2 separate regions of the Homo sapiens genome follow, and region 1 is linked to region 2. Evidence: promoter capture Hi-C in human tissues and cell types (Jung and others, 2019). All regions are on one chromosome and are shown on one strand. The core of a region is centred on a gene start or on the middle of the fragment in contact, and the rest is flanking DNA. Distances in the headings are between cores, read along the strand shown.

The links. Contacts are between HindIII fragments. The study calls those that stand out against the background at their distance.
Region 1: a fragment that was not itself captured here is called in contact with the fragment with the promoter of MNT in region 2 in 1 of the 25 tissues and cell types used here (adrenal gland).

The regions. Positions count from the first base shown.
Region 1 is chr17:1,879,471-1,882,170 of GRCh38, forward strand. RPA1 (replication protein A1) reads left to right here. Exons shown (of 17, transcript NM_002945.5): 11 at 90-229; 12 at 1,073-1,221. Among named protein-coding and RNA genes, the nearest start is that of RPA1, 51 kb to the left of the region's middle. The HindIII fragment of the contact is 3,965 bases long and covers 1-2,700 here.
Region 2 is chr17:2,399,779-2,402,478 of GRCh38, forward strand. MNT (MAX network transcriptional repressor) reads right to left here and starts at 1,282. Exons shown (of 6, transcript NM_020310.3): 1 at 862-1,282. The coding sequence starts at 934. RefSeq lists silencers at 1-247, 768-827, 978-1,057, 1,248-1,557, 2,208-2,527 and enhancers at 1-537, 1,828-1,877, 2,249-2,700. The HindIII fragment of the contact is 14,706 bases long and covers 1-2,700 here.

The DNA.
Region 1 (2,700 bases), core at 66-2,565, 520 kb before region 2:
TGTCAGGCTTCAGTGCTTGCCGTTCATCATTTGCTGGCGTCGGAATGGGAGTCTTGACCACCTCCTGCTAACACGTGCATGTGTTTTAGACATCATCGGGATCTGCAAGAGCTATGAAGACGCCACTAAAATCACAGTGAGGTCTAACAACAGAGAAGTTGCCAAGAGGAATATCTACTTGATGGACACATCCGGGAAGGTGGTGACTGCTACACTGTGGGGGGAAGATGTAAGTGCTGGGATGGGGTCTTCAACACGCACAGGACCTCCTGGGGTTGGGGCGTGGTCTTGTCCTATAGGATGGGGCCTTCAGCACACACAGGAGGAGCTCCTGGAGTTGGGGGAGGGAGTGGTCTTATCCTATAGGATGGGGCCTTCAGCACACACAGGAGGAGCTCCAGGAGTTGGCGGAGGGGGCATCTTGTCCTATAGGATGGGGCCTTCAGCACACACAGGAGGAGCTCCTGGAGTTGAGGGAGGGAGGGGTCTTGTCCTATAGGATGGGGCCTTCAGCACACACAGGAGGAGCTCCTGGAGCTGGCGGAGGGGGCGTCTGTTCCTATAGGATGGGGCCTTCAGCACACACAGGAGGAGCTCCTGGGGTTGGGGGAGGGAGGGGTCTTGTCCTATAGGATGGGGCCTTCAGCACACACAGGAGGAGCTCCTGGGGTTGGCGGAGGGGGCGTCTTGTCCTATAGGATGGGGCTGTTAGCACACACAGGAGGAGCTCCTCGTGGGGGCGGTTTTGTCCTATGAGTTGGGGGCTTTCACCATGTAGATGGGAAGGATTGTGCTGTCTGGTAAGTATTTAAAATCCTTTATCTTACTTCTGTGAGATTTGCTGTGATTCAAGCTTTACGCGGGGAAATGCTCTTTCCCCTAACTCTAGGAAAGCAGTGATAGTTTTGATGTGTCTCTGAGTAGATTCTCATGTGTGAGGTCTGTCTTGTATGGATTCCATGTACGCTGATTACATTCACTCTACTATTGAATGTTTGCCTTGTTTTCTATAAAAATCTTCTGTGTTCTTCCTGCTAGTGACACTTGTATATGTCTGGTGTTTCTTTTACAGGCTGATAAATTTGATGGTTCTAGACAGCCCGTGTTGGCTATCAAAGGAGCCCGAGTCTCTGATTTCGGTGGACGGAGCCTCTCCGTGCTGTCTTCAAGCACTATCATTGCGAATCCTGACATCCCAGAGGCCTATAAGCTTCGTGGATGGTAGGTTTTGTGGGGCTAAACAAAGGGTTACTTGAGGCTGGGCTTTGAGAAAAGCTGGTTACAATCAGCATGGGAGCTTTCTGCCAAGCAGAAGCCTTCGTCCCTGAGTGGTGCAGCTTCCGTGTTTCTTGAAGGCATTATGCCTTCTGTGAGGAGGGCTTTAAAGCCCTTAAACGGACAAACCTGTAATCCCAGGACAAACCTAGAGAGTCGGAGGAGGCAATTAGCATGTAAGTGCTGCCTGCTGACCTCGATCCTGCCAAAGGAGGGGACGGCCAGGCTTCAGCAGCGGTGTGCTGAAGGCGCCTTTCTTTCCAGGGTTTAGGCTCTGGGCCTCTGTGGCGTGGGGGAACACATGCTTTCTTTCTCTGTCAAGTCTTTGGTGCCGATCACATCTTCTAGTGTGTATTCACTAGACTCTGATCAAGTGTGGTGAGAACAATGGGCTTTTTGTTAGGATTAGATTGTTATTCCCAAAGCACTCAAGGGATGAGGAGAGCCTGTTAAAATCTCCTCACTGTATCTAGCTTTTTAGGACATTCAAACTCTGTCTTAAAAGAGTACTTCAAACTGAGACACAGGATGCAAGAATTGATGTGGTCAGGGAAAACACTTTCACCCAAGCTTCAATAATTCCCATAGCTGTAGTCTATGGGGGGGAAGTGTGTCAGTTTCCAGCTGTGTCTTAGGATTTAAGCAGCTAAAGAATGAGCTCATTTTACATACTCCTCCTTTGTTTTGAGTCATTTAAACCAATGGCACTGGTGTTTGACCAGTTTCATGAAGCATCTTCTGGAATGTTCATGTCACTGAGCCATCCTCATGAGTAGTACGGTCCACACGTATCTGCCGAACTGCAGGGCCCGTTCATAGTCTGACCAGAACTAGCCACAGATTTGCTTTTTTCTTATTGCTTGATTTTCTTTTAGGCTCTGGAGTTCGACTCCAGGTTAATTGCATTCCCACATTAAAATCGCATTCCCACATTAAAATTGCATTCCCACATTAATGTCTTCATCTTTTACTTGTCAATAATCATGATCCCAGTCAACATAAAAAGCACGGCTGTCCCCAGAATAAAATAACTTGGCATTGATCAAAGACAAGCTCAGTGCATACATGATACCTGGACAAGGATTAGAGATGTTTAGATCTTGGCTATAACAATGCAGAGTTTTTATTGTAAGAAGGGCCGCCTTGACTCCTGACGAGTGATCTTTGGTGGCAAATGTCTCCTTGGAGCTTTTGAAACCGTGAACTTGTGTAGCTAGTAGTGGTGAAACAGATGGATGGGCCTTGCTGTGCCCCTGTGAGGGATTTAGCCGCTTACCTGACAGGAGAAGGCAGCTGTCTGCAGCTCAGGGTAACATCCATTCTGTTAGATGGTCTCTGTTTAAGGAACCTGTTCTTTGTGTGGTTACCCACCTTGGGATGGTATTTGGCCTTTCATCTCCGGCCAGCTCCTCTCCGCCACCACTG
Region 2 (2,700 bases), core at 32-2,531:
GGGCTCGGAACGCAGGCACACGCAACATTCCAGGCGAGAGCGGGTTTGGAACGCGCAGACACGCCACATTCCACACTGGCTAAAGCGGGGCGCAGCGAGGGGGGCCCGGGGGCTGACCCCCAGCGACCCGCGGGCCATTTCGCAAACGCCCAATTAGCCCGGCTTTCACCCAAACCCCGGACGCGCAGCCCAGCCCAGCTCTGGGAGGCGGGGTCAGGCGGGGCTGGCCAGGATCATAAGACACGCGATGTCATTTCATTCTGCAAAGGCCGCCTCCGCCCCAAGCGGCGCGTAGATCTGCCGGGAGCGCCCCCCGCACCCTCCCCACGGGGCCAGGGAAGCCGAAGAGCTGCTCCGCGTAGAGTAGTCCCCACCCCCACTCCGTTACACACACGCCCACTCGTGTGCTATACACACGCCCGTGTACACGTCCGTTCATCTGCTCTTCCCGAGGCTCACATCACACATCCCCCGTGCACACACGCACGCACACGCGAGCCTGCCACCCCCACGCAACACCATTCCTCACCCCACCCCCCGGCTCACACATCCTCAGTGCCACCGAGGGCTCCGCTGGCCCACGCAAAAGCAGCCCACCACAGAAGGGGCACAGGGGTGCCACGCAGCCGGGGTGGCGCCCGCAGGAGCCAGGTCCCTCGCAGCATGTTAATGAATTCATTAATTAATTTCACTGCCCACATCACCCCTCCCCAGGCGGCGGCTCTCGCGGGGAGCCGTGCGCTGCCAGGCTCCGCAGGCCGCCCGGGAGGGGGCCCTGTCCGCGGTTTCGCGTGGGTTCGGGGACCGGGGTCACTCGCTTCCCCTTCCCCAGTGCCCCAGGGGCCCAGCCCGGCCGCTCACCACGTGCTCTCTGTTGTTGCTGCGCTTGCCATTCCAGGAAGCGGGCCGCCTCCAGTAGCGTCTCTATGCTCATCGCGCCGAGAGCTGCCGGGGGCGCGCCGGGGCCGAGGCTGCGGCCCGCGAGCCGGGCACAGGTCAGGCTGGCGGGCAGGCAGGAGGGAGGGATCACCTCCGGGGGGCGACAGGGCTGGGCGGCGCAGCGCACTCCGCAGGGAAGAACGGGGGAGCACGGGGAGAAAAATCAATGTCTCTCAAAATATTTGCAAAATATAAAATTGCAAATTTAAAAAAATGGGATGCAAAAAAAAAAAAAAGGCGGCACTGCCTCCCTTCTTCCCCTCCCTCTCTACCTCCCTTCCGATGCCTCCCGCCCCGCGGCCCCCGGGAGTCCCGCCGACAAGAAAGGGCTTTGCAACAAGATGGCGAGGAGGCACCGACACACACAACAAGGGAAGGAGCCGCGCTGCCCCCGGCCGCCGCCCCCGCTACTACACCGGGGCCACAGCCAAAGCCCGGACCGGAGCCCCCGCCCGCAGGGCCGCGGCGTCTCGCGAAGGGAGGGGCGGGTCCTGCGCTGCTGGCCCCGCCCCCCGGATCCGGCGCGCGCACACGTGGCCCGGGCAGGGAGGGAGAGGTCCGAGCGGGGTGTGCGCGCCGCGGTTCCGCTTTCCTGCTGGCCCCGCCCCGGCTGCAAGCCACAAGTTGGGCCGGGGCGGTGCGTTTGGGTCGTTCACGACGAAATCTGTCCTGCTGGAGGGAGGGTAGGGTGAACAATTCAAGATTTAACAGAGTTCCAACCAGGATATTCCGGGTCAGGGAAACCTTGGGAATGGCAGAGACTGGCCTGACCCTGGGTCTCCACGCTCCACCCACTCGCGACCTAAATCCCGCAATCGCCGGGCTGTCGCAATTCCCCCGGGATCCGCCCCTGGGCGGAGCTGCCGGCGACTGGAGACTGTCAAGAGAACCAGCGGAGGGAGCGGAGCGGCAGTCCGGCTCCGCGTTTTGTCTCCGTTCCTCCCCCCGCAGTGCGTTCGCATCCTATTAGGGGACGTCACCGGGCCGCGAGCCAATGGGCGGGCAGGACAACACGGCATGGAGCAGCTCCACATGGACACCCCGCGCCGCCAGCCTTCGGTTTAAAGGGCCAGTGTCTGCAGGTCACATTCGCGGGTGCGGATGGGGCCACTGGGCGAACCCAGGGTGGGATGCCGTAAGGGGAATCCCGCAGTCGTGCCCTGGCCTCTCCATTCCTTTTCACCACCTTCCATTTAAAACCAGGCCTTTATCTTTCCTTCCCCTGAACTCCAGTCTTTGTCCACGCGTATTCGATGTGGGTGGAGATACGGACTGTGCCACCCCATGGGCCACCCTTTCCTCTGGGGCCGGGGCCAGGGCGGGGAACACGAAGCGCCCGCAGCCCAGACCGGGGGGCGTGGCCCAAATCGGGAACAACAACGTGGAGGGCGGAAGCCCGGCCCTCCCCGCGCCTGGCGACCGGCGGTGGGCGGGGCGCGGGGGCGGGGTCCGCTGCGGCCGGCTGGAACCGCGCTCCCCAGAGGGAGGGACCCCCCGTCGCCCGCCCGCCCGCCCGCGTCTTCCGGGCTCGAGTGTTTAGGGGAGCTCGGGTGCAATCGGAGAGTTAGCTCTTTGAGGCCGGCTGCCCTTAAATCCTCTCACTTCACACATAAGGAAACTGAGGCCGTGACGGCCAAGGACTCGCCTAAGGTCGTTCCGTATTCCACCTGCTCCTCTCTCCCGAAGCGGGGGCACTCTTCCCTGACCCCAGGGACGACTCTGAAGCCAGTTCTGGAGGAGGGCCCCCAATTAGAAAAATGC